5 separate regions of the Homo sapiens genome follow, and regions 1, 2, 3 and 4 are each linked to region 5. Evidence: promoter capture Hi-C in 16 types of primary human blood cells and fetal thymus (Javierre and others, 2016). All regions are on one chromosome and are shown on one strand. The core of a region is centred on a gene start or on the middle of the fragment in contact, and the rest is flanking DNA. Distances in the headings are between cores, read along the strand shown.

Evidence for each region. Contacts are between HindIII fragments. The CHiCAGO score rates a contact against its expected background, and 5 or more counts as called.
Region 1: a fragment that was not itself captured here is called in contact with the fragment with the promoter of NBAS in region 5 in 2 of 17 cell types (fetal thymus and total CD8 T cells); the score reaches 7.5 in fetal thymus.
Region 2: a fragment that was not itself captured here is called in contact with the fragment with the promoter of NBAS in region 5 in 1 of 17 cell types (fetal thymus); the score reaches 5.2 in fetal thymus.
Region 3: a contact is called between a fragment that was not itself captured here and the fragment with the promoter of NBAS in region 5, in 2 of 17 cell types (endothelial precursors and erythroblasts). The highest score is 6.1, in endothelial precursors.
Region 4: a contact is called between a fragment that was not itself captured here and the fragment with the promoter of NBAS in region 5, in 1 of 17 cell types (fetal thymus). The highest score is 6.7, in fetal thymus.

What each region holds. Positions count from the first base shown.
Region 1 is chr2:15,143,452-15,146,624 of GRCh38, reverse strand. It overlaps a transcript of NBAS not described here. Among named protein-coding and RNA genes, the nearest start is that of NBAS, 420 kb to the left of the region's middle. The HindIII fragment of the contact is 231 bases long and covers 1,650-1,880 here.
Region 2 is chr2:15,297,358-15,300,205 of GRCh38, reverse strand. All of the region lies in intron 40 of NBAS (NBAS subunit of NRZ tethering complex), which reads left to right. Among named protein-coding and RNA genes, the nearest start is that of NBAS, 260 kb to the left of the region's middle. The HindIII fragment of the contact is 724 bases long and covers 1,113-1,836 here.
Region 3 is chr2:15,240,414-15,243,509 of GRCh38, reverse strand. The region is part of intron 44 of NBAS (NBAS subunit of NRZ tethering complex); the gene reads left to right. Among named protein-coding and RNA genes, the nearest start is that of NBAS, 320 kb to the left of the region's middle. The HindIII fragment of the contact is 898 bases long and covers 1,048-1,945 here.
Region 4 is chr2:15,159,783-15,162,891 of GRCh38, reverse strand. It overlaps a transcript of NBAS not described here. Among named protein-coding and RNA genes, the nearest start is that of NBAS, 400 kb to the left of the region's middle. The HindIII fragment of the contact is 7,970 bases long and covers 1-3,109 here.
Region 5 is chr2:15,559,696-15,562,863 of GRCh38, reverse strand. It overlaps NBAS (NBAS subunit of NRZ tethering complex), which reads left to right and starts at 1,530. Exons shown (of 52, transcript NM_015909.4): 1 at 1,530-1,676. The coding sequence starts at 1,560. LOC105373440 (a long non-coding RNA gene) reads right to left here and starts at 716. Exons shown (of 4, transcript XR_001739297.2): 1 at 681-716. RefSeq lists an enhancer at 1,331-1,740. The HindIII fragment of the contact is 4,253 bases long and covers 1,504-3,168 here.

The DNA.
Region 1 (3,173 bases), core at 516-3,015, 420 kb after region 5:
GGGACGTTCTTCGGGCAGGTCATTCTCACTGGACATGGCAGCCTTGCTCATCTGTCCCCTTCATTTATGCCACAGCCCCTCTCAGCCCCTTGTGGTGAGCAGCTCCCAGACTGCTTCTACCCATCTGCTTCTGACTGGGGGTGTTGGACTTTCATTGAGTTTTCTTTTAAAATTGCCTTTATCAGCCGTCTGCAGTCCATCATCACAAAGGTTTCTTCTGGTCTTGTAGAAGATATGCATCACATTTTATCCTGAAATCAGATTTAACTCAAGATGACCACTATTGCCATCCTTAAATATGTGTCATGAATAACTGCCATTTTAAGTGCGTACTAGGTACCAAACAGGGCTTTAAACACCATAGTCTATTTATTCTTTACCACAACTCTATGAAATAGGGACCACTATCATCTCACTGCACAAATGGGGACACTGAAGCACAAGCATTTAAGTAACTTGCCTTGAGTCACACAGCTAGTGAGTGGCACAGTTGAGATTCATACCAGGCCAGCCAGCCCCTGACTTTGAGATCTTAACCATTGCTTTCTGTTGTTCCAAGGTGGCAAAGATGTTTCTCTGTTTTACTCATTCTCAACACTTAGAACAGTATCAAGTTCACGCTAGATACTCAATAGATATTTTTCCAATGAGAAATGGAAAAATGAATGAATGAAAGAGTGTTTTCTCCAACTCAGGGAGTCTCGAAGAAAGCATTCACCTTATGTTTAGATGGGTGGCTCTCAACTTCGAGCATGCATCAGAATCCTTCATAGAGCTTGTTATAACTCATGTTCTGGGCCCCCCACCCCAGAATTTCTGATCCAGTAGGTCAAGCCTGAGAATTCTCATTTCTAAAAGTTGCCAGGTGCTGCCGAGGCTACTGGTTGGTGTACCTCATTTTGAGAAGCTCCTGTTTGGAGTAAAATTCCATCATACTTTTGCAGCAGGAGTGGGAGCTGCAGTAAGAGGGCAGGAGCCAGTGACTCAGTGCCCAGTGGTCTGCCCAGTCCAGGCAGAGACAAGCCTGGGACTCAGATGCTCCTCTTCCTGCAGCCTCTAGGACCAGCAGCCAGTGCTGGTCTGAGTCTCACAGTGACCAGGTCTCAACTGGAACTCCAGGTTCAGAGTGAAGATTAAACCATAATAAAAGCTTTCCTTTATAAATCACCCACCATACACTAGGCATGAAGACACACACACACACACACACACACACACACACATACAAACAAACACATACATCTCAATGCATTTTTGCTGTAATGGCATATGTGTGGCCCTAAACATCCTTGGGTTCTTTAAGATTGCGTGTAAAAGCACAGGGCTTAGAGGAAAATAGTTAAAGCAAGCCACTCAAAATCTAGTAACCGCAAAGCTGACAAAACCAACTAAAAATGAGTAATGAAAACACCAGCAGAGTATGTAGAATGTCACTGGTATGTGTACCAGCAACACAAGCAGTCTATTCTTTGCCACCTTAAGCCATGGGATGTGTACGTCCTCTTTTGAGATTAGGTTGTGGAGACTGCTTTCTATCTAAATTAAAAATTGGATTGAGGGTGTGGCCGTCTTCATTAGCCCACTGTTTTACTACAGGAGGATTATCTCTACTCATAGCTACACCAAATAGCTTAACCTCATGGAAAGCTTAGTAGTTCTAGTAGCCTCTAAGCCAGCCACTTTGCAGTAAAGAAAGGCACTTCTGCAAATTGTCAGCTTTTACCTTAAGGCTTTATATATTGCTATGGCCTTCTCTTTAACTGTGAGAAAGTTGCCCTGCCCCATTCCTTCAAAACATGCATGTGCTAAAACCAGATCTCATAAACCAACGCAACCACCTGTATCGTAACATATGGGACTGTTTCTGAGTTGGCAAAGCTTGGATTTGAACCCAGAGCTGACTGCGAAGCCCATGCACTTTCTCCTCTATTCTGCTGCCTTTTTTTTAGAGGATAGATATGCAAAAACAAAGCCAGTGGATGTGTGCTGTAGTGATGTGTTCGATAAAAAGTGGCCAGCAATGTGGCCACTCAGAAGTACCTCTGCCTTGGATGGGAGCTGCTTGAGGGCCAGGATTGTGTAGCGACTCCTGTCTTCCCCAAAGGACCTAAAAAGTGCCTCACGCAGAGAAGTTGCTCAATACACATTTTATGAATGCAATTGTATCTGAATCAATAGTAATAAACACAAGCCAAACATAAAAGTCATTCTTTCAGGAAACAAACATTATATTTTATTTAATAGGCTGGGAGGTTGATGGGGATGGAGAACATATTTGACACTTTGGTCTGTGTCAGGCTTTCCTGGGTTGAGCCTGGAAATTACCTTGGTGCATATAGTTCAGGAAGGTTTGCCAAGGCAGCCATACTCGGGCTGTAGGAGCTGGGACACAGCCATGCTACACAATTTGTGGAATGCATGTTGTCTTTTGACACTGTGTGTGCATATGTGTTGGGGAGGGACCGTGGGTGGGCCCTGGGGGCCAGGCTGTGGAGTCACAACAATGTGACAAGGTGTATTAGTCAGGTTTCTCTAGAGGGACAGAACTAATGGGAGATATATATATATATATATATTTTTATATATAGGATAATATATATATATAGTATTAACTCACACAACCACAAGGTCCCACAAGGGGCTATCTGTGGTCTGAGGAGCAAGGAGAGCCCGTCCGAGTTCCAAAACTGAAGAACTTGAAGTCTGATGTTTGAGGGCAGGAAGCATTCAGCACAGGAGAAAGATGTAGGCTGGGAGGCTAGGCGAGTCTCCCTTTTCACATTTTTCTGCCTGCATATATTCTAGCCATGCTGGCAGCTGATTAGATGGTGCCCACTCAGATTAAGGGTAGGTCTACTTTTCCCAGCCCACTGACTCAAATGTTAATCTCTGTGGCAGCACCCTCACAGACACACCCAGGATCAATACTTTGTATCTTTCAATCCAATCAAGTTGACACTCATTATTAACCATCATACGAGGGGTGTGTGGAGGTTATGTAACCACCACTTGCAAACCTCCAAAGGGCTGCAGAGGGACACACGTGCTCTGTTTGGCTCTAAGGGCAGGACGAAGCCCGTGGGTGGAGAATTCATCCAGTCCATTCAGAGACCCATCTCACAGACATGCCCTTGTTTCTAAGTTGTTTGTGTTTGTTCTGAGTTTCATGTTCG
Region 2 (2,848 bases), core at 225-2,724, 260 kb after region 5:
GCTAACTTAGGTAGATTACTAGCCTTGGATAAAAGTATTGATAGAATTTGTGGGCTTATTTCTCATGCACAGCCTGTGCATCTTGAAGGGCAGCATCGTCCTGAGCCAGCAGAGGCCCCCTGGAGCCCAGCAGCTCTCTCAGATGATCCATGGAGCTGCCTCCCTCGCCTGCATTTTTCCTTTTAATTTTATGCATTGATGGTTAGCAAATGGTCAGTCTGAGAGAATTTTCTCTTCTAGTATTTGTTCTAATTAACTCATTTTTACGTTTTTAAAAAATACACATGTGACCCCAAAACTCAAGTGTTGAAAATAGTATATAATAATAAGTCAGTGTTTCCCATTTGTATCCATCCAGAGATAGTTGATGGCTGTACATACTTATATAACTATTTTTTAGACAGATGTAAGTAGGCTGTGCACATTGTTCTGTATCTTGATTTTTTTTCCCTCATATCTTACCTTTGTAATTGTTGTAAATGTATTTTGAAGTGTGATCTTTGCAGCATTCTTTTAAAAAAGTGTTCAGAAGGTAAAATCGGTTAAAAATGGAAACGTCCTTTAGTTTTATAGACTAGGGAAGCAAACTCAGCGGGGGATGACATTCAGAATTTTATGGTAGACTATTTCTAAAATGCGTTTTTTTAAGCTACTAATTGAAAATACTAAGTAGAAAATTATCTCAAGCAAAATAACAACCCTAAAGGGGAAACACACCACCTGTTTAAAACTTTCGAAATAATATTACCAAGAAATGTAGAGACTATTAAACCAGAATAGATTTATTACCTCTAGTAGTAAGCAGTAGATTAAGTCATTGAGCATTTTGTTGTCATGAATATTTATGCACATTTTGTTTTTACGGGGATTTGACCATATTCTTTAAAGAAATCATACTTTATTCACCTCCCTGAAGAACTGCATTGCCAAGTTTTGAGGGGAAAATCAAGTAATTTAACTCTTCACAATTTCCTTTTTAAATTATGAATGGCTTTTTATGCTGTTAGTTTTTGCAGCCTGTGCTATTTTGCCATATCACTTTGAATACTGAATATGGAAGATTTTGAAGCTGCCCAGAGAGCTCTTCATAAGCTTCCTAGAGGCTAAAAGCTTTCATACCCATGCGTCATGTCACTGAAGTCAGATGCTGGAAAGAGGGAGGGAAGTCTGAGTGTACTCTGAACACCAAGACTTCCGAGTGATTCTGGGTGTGAAGCTGGATGTAGAGCAACTCATGGAGACTTGCTCAGCAGTGTGGGGCAAGCGGGTGGGAAGCCAGGTGGCTTGAGTCACTCTCCAGCTGCAAGACTACAGCTCCGGATGCTTCAACTACAAATGGGCGTGTCTCTAAAACAAGAAACAGTGTTTCCCGTGCACATCCCCAGCTTGATAGGAGGGTCAAATGAAAATCACGTGAAAATGCTTTCGAAACTTTAATTGTTGTGTACTTGTGCAGTGAATAAATGAACGTATGAAATGCAGTGTTGGAATGAGTAGGAGATGCTTTGGAATATTTTGGGAGAAGTAGTGATAAGCTCAGGGGAAGAATTTTTACTCAAATTTAATTTGAATATCGGAAGTAATCATAACCAGTAAAATTTCTTGAGGAAGAGATAGAAAGTACCAGTGGCAATGATCAGAAAATAATTTGCATAGGGAGCTAGAACTTACAAATGCTCATTCATCCAGTTTCATTTAGTCTTTATGGGGATTCAGAAGAAATTGCTTCAGTTTTAGAAATGGAAAATTTACAGCTCAGAGGGAAAAACTAGTAATCCAGGTCATTGATGCCAACTCCTGTGTTTTTCCCCTGTAAGTAATTTTTTCTTAGAAGCTTTTGTGAGAAATTGTCTCCTCTCATTTTTGTAAGTTCTTCTCAGTATCATGTTTTATACAATAAATTGAAGTACTGAAAATTTTTTTATACACAAATATTTGATGAGCTATAAACTTGTATATACTTACAACCTGTTATCAAAAAATTAATAGAATTTCCCTAACCACCACCTTCTTACTTATTTCTCGTAGAGATGGGGTCTCACTATGTCACTCAGGCTGGTCCCAAACCCCTGGGCTCAAGCAGTCCTCCCACCTTGGCCTCCCAAAGTGCTGGGATTACATACAGGCACAAGCATCCGTGCCCAGCCTCACCACTTTATTAAGACAGAATTTTAAAAGGAAGTATATTTATTTCAGGGAGTTTAACAGAAAATGGTATTGTTGCTTGTGATTCTAAAACACCGTTATCATTAGAGAAGAAAAAGCAAGCGGCTCAAATAGAATATCCAGTTGAAAACCTAATGGGTGTTTATATTTACACACACACACAGACACACACACACAGACACAAGCACATATATATGGCATGAGAGGAGGAATATATGGAAAAATGTCTACCTGGAACAATACGGAATGACAGCATTAAATCTATCATTGAAAATCTGTCATTTGTAAAAGGACTCTAATGGCAAGTGTATTAGTTCACTCGCACACTGCTATAAAGAACTAACTGAGACTGGGTAATTTATGAAGAAAAGAGGTTTAATTGACTCATAGCTCCACAGGCTTAACAGGAAGCATGGCTGGGAGGCCTCAGAAAACTTGGCAATCATGGCAGAAGGCGATGGGGAAGCCAGCACATCTTACCATGGTGGAGCAGGAGAAAGAGAGCAAGGTGGGAAGTGCCACACACTTTTAAACAACCAGATGTCATGAGAACTCCATCACGAGAACAGCAAGGGGGGAAGTCTGCCCCCATGATTCAGTTACCTCCCACCAGGGCCTTTTTCAGCACATGGGGATTACAATTCGAGATGAGATTTGGGTGGGGACACAAAGCCAAGTTATA
Region 3 (3,096 bases), core at 247-2,746, 320 kb after region 5:
AAGCTAAGGTTTGTAGAGGCTTTCGGTAGATAGTCTCTCATGCACCTAATCCGATAAAAGACTGCAAAGGGGCCTGTACCACAAAGTCACTTAAGGATCCAGGCTGATGGAAGCCCCATCATTTTGTATTGGCACCATCTGGGCCCCATGTTCTCCTTAATTGTTGTGGTTAAAAAAGGGAAACTGGATAGTGAGCCATGTGGGTTTTTTTATTGCCCGGCTCTGAAATGGTATATGTCACTTCTGCTCAGATTTCACTGGCTGGAACACAGCTCATCCTAACTACAAGGGAATTGACAAATGCAGTGGAAGAGTTGGAATGCTTGTGTTTGGTGAGCACCACTATCTCTGTCACACTGGGAGACAAGTTAGAACCGTTGCAGTGCTCTTTATGAGAGATGATGGTGGCTGGGAACTGAGTGGTGGCAGTGAAGGTGGTAGGAAGTGGTTAGAACCTAGATATATTTTGAAGCTTGACCCAATAAGATTTGCTGATGTCATCCATGATTCCTCAGTCCCTCCACCCCCTTCTCACTATATTATCTCCCATGATATATGTGGTTTCTTTGTAAGCCTGGTTCATGTTTTTATCTCATTTTTTACAGGTCTTGGAAAGTAGATGTTTAGTACCTATTTATTAACTGATGAAACGGTTTAGCCACTTATCTTTATTTCAAAAAATCCATTATTATTTTTCATAGCAACTACTAATTGCTGCAGGGAACAGTTAAAAATATCATCTTGGTTTGATATTATAGTAATGATATACATGAATGACATGTTAATGCTGTGGGCTTAAGAAAAGAATGTTAAGAATAATGGTACCGTGGGGCCACTAGATACAGTAAAGAAATTGCCATTTTTTTTACTCTGGTACATTTTTTTTTAATCATTTCTTTCTTTTACTTCTGTTCCTTCCATTATGGAACAGTTTAAAGAAAATAAATCTACTAGATGTAAATTCAGTGTTAAACATATATTTTTTAACCATACCCTGGAGTCTTTCAGCAATGAACCTGTTTTTACAAAGTATAGTAATAAAAAGCTTGAATTAAGTAAAACGCCTAGTCAAATAAAACACCTTACATATTTTTAATCATAATATCATTCTGCTTCTTAGAGGTTCTAGCTGGCTCAGGAAAATTAACTTAGGATTGCATTTATTTACACTCTGCCTTGTTCAGTGTCAGGTTACATAGTTATTTTGAAATATTTAGTTCTCTTGAAGGATTATTTTAAATAGAAAATTTTCTAATGACACTGTAGTGATGAAGTCAAACAATTTAAACTCTTGAAAAAGTTACACCTGTCTCTCATAACCTACAGCTAGTTTTCTGAAAGCATAGACTTCAGTGTGAGGGCTAGACTCAGTAATGCTGACGAGACAGTTTATACATACAAAGTAGGTGGGTTATGCACTTGGATGTTGGAGCAGAGGACTTGCCAGTGGAATGCTTGTAGAGGCTAGATTGACTCCAAGTGTCTCGATAATGAAACATGACTGGGAATTTGCCTTGCAAAAAAGAGGGAAAGGAGCATTTCCTTGAGACAAGACGGCAAGTAAAAGCACCAGGTAATGACAAAGAGTCAGTGTGGCTGTAGCTTAGGGTTCGAGTTACAATTATACCACGAAGCCAGAGACTTAGCTAGGGACCAGTTTGTGAAGGTTCTTGAGTTCCGTGCTGAGAAATTTGGGGAGCTTATTTAAAAAAAAGGTTTTTCTAAAAGGGAAACATGTGACAAATTTATTAGGAAGATGACAAACCAACGGGAGAGGATGGCACATGTATTTTATCCATTGGTCAAATTAAATGTCAGCATCTGTTTACTGAGCACTTACTATGGGCAAGGCACTGTGCTGACTGTTTTACATATTGTCTTAAGTTCTTAAAGTTGTGCAGCAGGGGTCATTTTTTTTCATTTTGTAGATGAAGAAACTAAAGCTTGAAGCACTTTGTCAAGTTTCCTAAAGTCACACCAGTAGTAAATATTAAACACAACTTTTCTGAATGTATTGTTCTTCCTGCTTACCATATATTCATTCCATGGTTGGTTGACAAAGGCGAGTCAAGACTTGGACAACAATGATCTCATCTGGACCTCTTTAAGAGAATAGGGACCCATTGTTTCATCCAGGACCCTACTTCCTGCCCATGTGAATTAGCTGCCTATCCCTATTCTGTAGCCAGTCTGTTTTTGAAACTCTTCCATATCACACAATAGGCTAGGAAGAGTGTATACATTTGGCTAGCTGATATAGCCAAGTAATTTCTGAAATTTATATTTCTTGGGGAAACAAATATGAATATAATAAAAGATTCACTCTGCTATAAACTCTTATTCAGTCTTGATTTTGTCATTCAGCATTCAACCAGCATGCACTCTCTAATAAACTTGGAGCCTGTGAAGATGCAGAAATCGTTGAGTGGAAGCTGTGTAATGTAAGGTGGCAGGGAGCACTGCACTTGGTAACCAAGTGTTCTGGATTCCAGTTTTTACTCTTCTCTTGTACACGATGACCCCTAACATGCCACTGAGCCTCCTGGAGCTCAGTCTCTTCATCTACATGTATGAAGGGAGGGGTGGTCTGTTGAACAAAACACAGATCTAGTATTTTGTACTTCTGAATCACAGGGAGGAGTTAACAGTTTATTTGTGGGCAAACACAGTAACATAATTAATACTTGTCAGTCAATGGTGGGCTCTGATTTTTTTAATGGCTTAGAGCCAGAAATCTGGTAAGAAGTGGGGACTACGGAACTTGTTTGAAAGCTGCATTTGCAGTGCATTTCCAATTTCATTGGAAATAGTACTTTCCTAAAGATCTCTTTTATCAATATTTATATAGGATTAGGAAAATGTCCCCTGTCAGCATTTTTTTTGTTTGTTTTTTGAGACGGAGTCTCACTTTGTCTCCCAGTCTGGAGTGCAGCGGTGCGATCTCGGCTCACTGCAGCCTCCGCCTGCCGGGTTCACGCCATTCTCCTGCCGCAGCCTCCTGAGTAGCTGGGACTACAGGCGCCCGCCACCACGCCCGGCTAATTTTTTTTTTTTTTTTTTTTTGTATTTTTAGTAGAGACGGGGTTTCACCATGTT
Region 4 (3,109 bases), core at 337-2,836, 400 kb after region 5:
GTTAGCTGCAAATGCAGCAGCTCAGTAGTCTAATTTAGCTCCAACAGCTGGGAATTCAGTATTTCTTCTTAATAACTTCAAACTCATTATAAACTGAAGATGGCACATACAATGAGAAAATAGGAAAATGAACTAATGGGTGTTCCAGAGCTTGAAAGGGAGAAAAGGAGGCTTCTTGTTTGAGTACCCATATTGTGGGTTTTCTCCGCACCAGCAGCGGTAGATACGAGAAGGAAGGCTTGGTTTCCTTTTGTTCTAATGAATCCAGAGTTCTTAGACTTGCGACTACCACTGCAAACTGGAGAGCTTTGGTGTTGCAACCTGCTCACAGCTGTGAGACGGGAATCAGGCACATCAAACTATTGCTAGCAAAATGAAAAATAACTCTGACTTTGATGCTGGTGTTAGACTACTGGAGTGTGAGTTTCTGCTCCCCCGGTGGCTGTCAGAGTTGTGGAAAGCTGCCTCCAGGCGCAAGACGAAGATTTCCAAAACCAGCCTTCAGCAATGGTCAGGTGATGAGGGAGCTAGGATGTGTGGTTCAGATGACCTAGGGGGGTTCTGAAGCTGGGGGTATCCTGATGCTTCACTAGTGAAAGGGGAGGGAGCCACACTGGAATTTCTACTCGGCCATGGGTCAATCTTAGGCCGGCAGATGGGATGCGTGTTGTCTTGACAAACAACGCGCCTGTTGCGGAGGCAGGGCTGTTTGGAAGAAAACACTGGATTGGAGTCAGGGGTCTGGGTTTGAGAGCTGGCCTGGCTAATACGACTTTAAGCAACTTTATTTGGCTTTCTCTGTATCTGTTTTCTGTCCACACCTCTCTGCTGTTGTTAGGCTCAAACAACAATAGTGTCAGGAGGAGAGTAAGGGAACTTGAAGATAAGGGGAATGGCTGGAGGAGAGGAACACTGAGGGAAGGTAGACTATAGGTATTGACCATCTGCACGTAGTGTGGTCAGGAAGTAGACTCTAAAATCCTAAGGTGACATCCCTAATCTCCCTCTTGTGCTCTGTTTATCTCTTTTGACACTTGAATTTTCAAGGACTCCCTACTACACCTGAGCTGCTTGAGAGATCAGGACCCTTAGGGTTATGACTTTCTGGGAGGACAGCAACCACTTGGTTTGCAAATCAGGAGACTTAGGTGGATCTCCTAATGCCTGAGAAAAGCTGCCCTGGCTGGGTGGAGCTCAAGCCACTGCAAGTTCCCCCATCTGGATGCAGAGCTGCAGGCCCGGGGTGAAACAACCCAGGCTCAGGTGTGGAGGCCACCGTGTAGCCAGGACAGAAGTGCTTTGCAAACTTGGCCTGCTTCTCCCTTAGAAAAGGGGTGAACTTTCTCTTCTGGACACTTGAAGTTCTCCTCAGCAGTACTGGTTACTTAGCGTTCTCCATGCCACACTTGCTTCCTTCATCTCTCTTTTCCCAAGTTTGTCCTGTTACTTAAAACTTACTTTCTCCTAGGAGACAGGAAAAGACATCCTCCTGACATTTGGTCAATTTGATTTTAGCTCGTTTTTTTACATCACCTTTGCTTTAACCGGGAAACATTTTGCTCTTTGCTAGTACTAGCAATGAGATAAGGTGCACTATACTGAGCGCCTATATGTGTTCAAAGTCTCTCATAGACTTTAGCGGTTAGCCACGAACCACTCCAGCAAGGGAAACAGATAGTATCCCCCACTTATATATGAGAAAACCAATTGAGAGGGGTTAATAAACTTGCGTAAGTTGTCCCTAAGAGTGAGAGTCAGGATTTGAACTCACATCATTCTGATTCCAAAGCCCAACTTTTGCTCAACTCCACACTCCTTGAGAATTCAGGCTTTCTTCGACTATGCTAATAGTCTCCATGACCATGAACTTGGATAAAGGATTGACCACAGCCAGAGAGGCAGCATCCAGTTATCTCCTTGTATAGAATGGATAATCCACCCCATGTATCCAGGATCTGTTAGGCAAAAGAGTTCTCTGAACCCTTTCATGTTACCTTCTTACTGAAATAGAACTTTTATCATCCTCACCCTGAGAATGGATGTTCCTGTTTAGAAAAAGACTTCCTTATCCCAGCTGACCTCACCCAGTTGGTAGAAATTCCAGTTTCCCCCATACTTAAACAAACATCTGTCTGAGCTCAATCTGTGCGCCAAAATTTAATCCTTGCAAACTCTCCCTGGAAAGAAAATAGGAAGAGATTGGTCAATGGGGGATTCCCTTGTGGGGTGCAGGCAATCAGAGATTGTGGATTGAAGGGGCCCTGGGGGATCACCTGGTCCAGCCTCCTGCCCCCCCCCCTCCCCCCGCCCACACTGGGACTTCTTGCTCAGTTTCCTGGCAGGTCCTGCATTCTCTGCCAAGGTTGTCTCACAAAGCAGCTTGTTCCTGGTGCAGCAGCTTTAGTTGTCTGAAATCTCCTTCTTCTATGAGCCAAGATGTGTCTCCTCCCAGCCCCGGGGTGTCCCTTAAGCCTCCCTGCTGCGTCCACAGGTGTGTCCATGCGTAGGGATCTTGCTCAAGCATCTTTGAGCCTCTCTCTCTCATCGCCTGCCACCCCAGTATGTCGGCCAAGTCCTGTCTGTTTGAATGCCTTCTTAAGCTGCCCTGTCTACTACTGTGGAAAGAGTCCCTGAGACCCCGGTGTTCATCTGAACCTGGCATTTTCTACCTGGTCTCCTTACCTCTCGTCTCTCCACTCCAGGATCTCCTCCCTGCAATCACCAGAGCCATCTTTTTAAAGCAGAACTCCAACCTTGTCATCCCCAACTTAAAGCCCTTGAACGGCTCTCCATGATCCACAGGATAAGCTCCTTAGCATGATAATCAAAGCCTTTTACATCCTGTCTGGATTGGTGGCTGCTTTGTACATAACATGCAATATAGCTAATCTTCACAATAATCTTATTGCTAGATTTTTGAAATGCATCTTACAGAGCATTGTGAGGCTCACAGAGATGAAACAATATCCCCAAATTGCATAGCCAGTAGGTGGCAGAACTGAGACTTGAAGCCATGGTTTCTCAGACTAAAATCCCTACTGTTTCCATTGTTCCAAGCAGTGTGTGTGTGTGTGTGTGTGTGTGTGTGCACGCGTGTGTGTGTGTATGA
Region 5 (3,168 bases), core at 281-2,780:
GTGTCTGGTGTGTTCAGAAATAGAGCCAGTGTGGCTGAAGGTAGTAGGGGGAGCAGGAAATGAGGTGTGAGATTTAGGGGAGCAGGCAGATGACGTAGGGCTTTGAGGTCATTAAACTTTGAGAGAAATGGGAGCTGGTTAGAGGCTTCCCAGCAGAGGCTTTTAATTGCATCACCGCCTAATGCATCTTGATGGATATCATGAATATAATTATCTCAAGGGATATTCAGTATTTGTGTTTCTTTTGATGTGAAACAGTGTAATACTTTGTACAGTATATATTCATTCATGTTACAGTAGGCTCTGCTTATAACTGTCCACAAAGAGGTATTTGTTGAATGAATGAATGAATGAACAAATGGGGTTGACCTTTTCGCTCCCTCCATGCGGGTTCTCAACCTATTATTTCAACTTTATTGCCCCTACACCCTTTCTCAACTTGGGTTCTATTCACCCGTCTTGTTGAGTACTAATTAGGAAAAAAAAAAAGGCAGGCTAGTGGGAGCAGGGAAAAACAAAGAGATAAGGCAAATTAGCTATACGTCTGTCTTTCTTCATGGTCCAAAACATATAAACAAAAGGAAGAAACAAATAAGCCATAGGTCTACTTTTCTTTATGGCCCAGGACATATGGCCCTTCTACCCAGATAACGTACTTAACTCACAAACTTCCTGCTTACCTTCAAATGCCTCAATTTCTGAAACACTTCAGCTGACAAAAAAAAAAAAAAAAAAAGAAAGAAAGAAAAAAAAAAAGCAAGTTAACTCCCTGCTACCTGGTGTTATCAATCACTCCAAGTTCCAGTCTATAAAATTCTCAACAAGCCTTTGTTTCCTAGCAATGAGCTCCTCCTCTGCTGAGTCGGCCCGCTGCTCCCTGGCAACGAACTTTCATACTTTCTTTAATCTGTCTTTCTTTATCTACCACTGTCTTGGTAAATTCTTTTACTCCCACACTGAGAAAGTCGTCACTCACTGGCGACACGTTGAAAGAGTTCTTTCAACTCTGTATTTCTGCCTCTGTCTCTGCTCATTCCATTTCCCGCTACTTGAAATGCTTCTCCAGTAGATTAAAATTCTGCCTATTGTTAAAGACGCAGGGACAAGCTCCACGTCCTCCAGGAAATCCCTGCAGACTCTGGCCTTCGTTGCCTTTTCTGAGCTCCTGTAGCATCCTTCCTCTGCTACCTTTCATTGGATAACTTTAGTTGTTTATTTTAAAACCACTGTTTGAACTCTCTCTACGTGTTAGGCAAAGAATATACAAATGAACATTAGCATTTCAGTGGGGTACCTTTACCATTTCTGTTTTATGGAAACTGAGTTATAAGAGAGGCTCAATGACTTGGCCGATCTCATGTAGATTAATGAACAAGGAGTGTATCAGGACCGGGACACAAGTCGTTCCCAAGACAAGCAATAGTCCCTGTCCTTCCTACTCATAAAAGGGTTAACCTAGCATTTCCTTGCCGTGAAACAAAAGCGGCCGCGGATAGAGAAGCTTGTCCTGTGAGGGATTCCGTAGAGACACTCCTCCGCTGCCTGAGTCCTCGGCGAACATGGCGGCCCCCGAGTCAGGGCCGGCTTTGAGTCCAGGCACTGCAGAGGGTGAGGAGGAGACGATTCTCTATGACTTGTTGGTCAACACCGAGTGGCCACCGGAGACTGAAGTACAGGTGAACCAGGCCCATCTACAGCAGCAGCCAGCTTGGCGCGGGCGCTTCGTGGGTAGAGCCACGTAGCAGGAGCCACGTAGGGGAGTGGAGACGGGTGGGTGGGGGACTAGGGCCGGTTGGCTTGTGCGGTCGCCTTGGCAACGGCACCTTGGGCTAGCGGGGGTCTAGGGCGGGGTGGGGTGGTGGTCCCTGAGATTCTTCCTGGGCTCAGAATTCGGTTGTTGGGGGCTGGAACTTCGTGCTCTGGGGAGCGTACGATCCCACTTTGGTTCTCAGTTTCGCTCTCTGTATTGGGAGGAGAGGGGATTGTTAGTGTCGCTCTCTGTATTAGGAGGGGAAGGCACAGCGCTGGACTCGAGGGTCCTTTCTCCTATCTGGACCCTCAGTGGTCCCTTCTCGCGGTCTGGCTAGGGCTAGTCTGGGCCGACGCTCAACTGCGATGGGAGAATTTTCCAGGACCTTACAGTCTGCAGCATCTGCCAGGCTGGTGCAGAGCGCAGAATCTGAGCCTTTACCCATACTGGGGGCTGGATCGCGCCAGGTCTTGTGTGTTTCAATAAAAGAGCATTTAATAAGGGTGTGCGTGTCCGTTCGTCTGTCTCGGTGTCACAGGTGCTGTGCTAGGTGCTAAGGATACAGAGATGAATATGTTTTCGTGGAGCTTCTCGTCTAGAGGGGAGACAGTCCCGTAAACGTTTTTCATAACCTAGCGTTTTATGCGCTATAGTTAGCGATGTGAGCAAAATGCCACGGAAGTGCAGAGTAAAGAGCTGCTGACTGGGATTGGGATCTCCGCTACAGAAGGGTTATAGAGGTTGATAATTTATGGACTGGATCTTGGGATTATCAGTTGTTTGGTAGTGAAGGCCTCCCGGGTCTGTGATGAAGAGTAGGAACCATGGATCCATGTTTATTTTATTTTATTTTTTATTATTATTATTTTTTGGATCCATGTTTATTTAACAGATATTTATTGAGTGCTTAACACGTGCCAGTTACTGTTTTAGACCCAGAGGAAGCAGCCAGATCGAAAAGAACCTTTATTAAAGATTATGTAGTCCAGCCCATGTGAGTTATCTTACATTTTTTCTGAGTGTTTCTTTGCTGGAGAAACGACTCATTTTTCAGCCCAAAGTTTGTATTTTTTTCCTCTGTAGCCTCCTTCCCACTGCAGTTTGTGCTTATCATGAATAATTTATTTTGTAGACGGGTAGAGATCTGCATATATTACTGTTTAATTTCAAGTACTTAGTTTGTCTTAATGTGAATATTTTTTGGGTTATGCAGCTAGGAAGCTGTTGCTGAGGCAGCTGGTTAGATAAGTTTCCACTCCTTAACACTCATTGGTTAATTGCAGTAATGTTTCAGAATGCTTACCATAAATTGATTCCAAAAAAGTAACCACAGAATTAACTTACTTTGAAACCCTTAGCACTTTGTTTTGTGTTTGTGTGTTGGGGGTGGGGGAGTTCAATTGATTTCTGCATTCTAT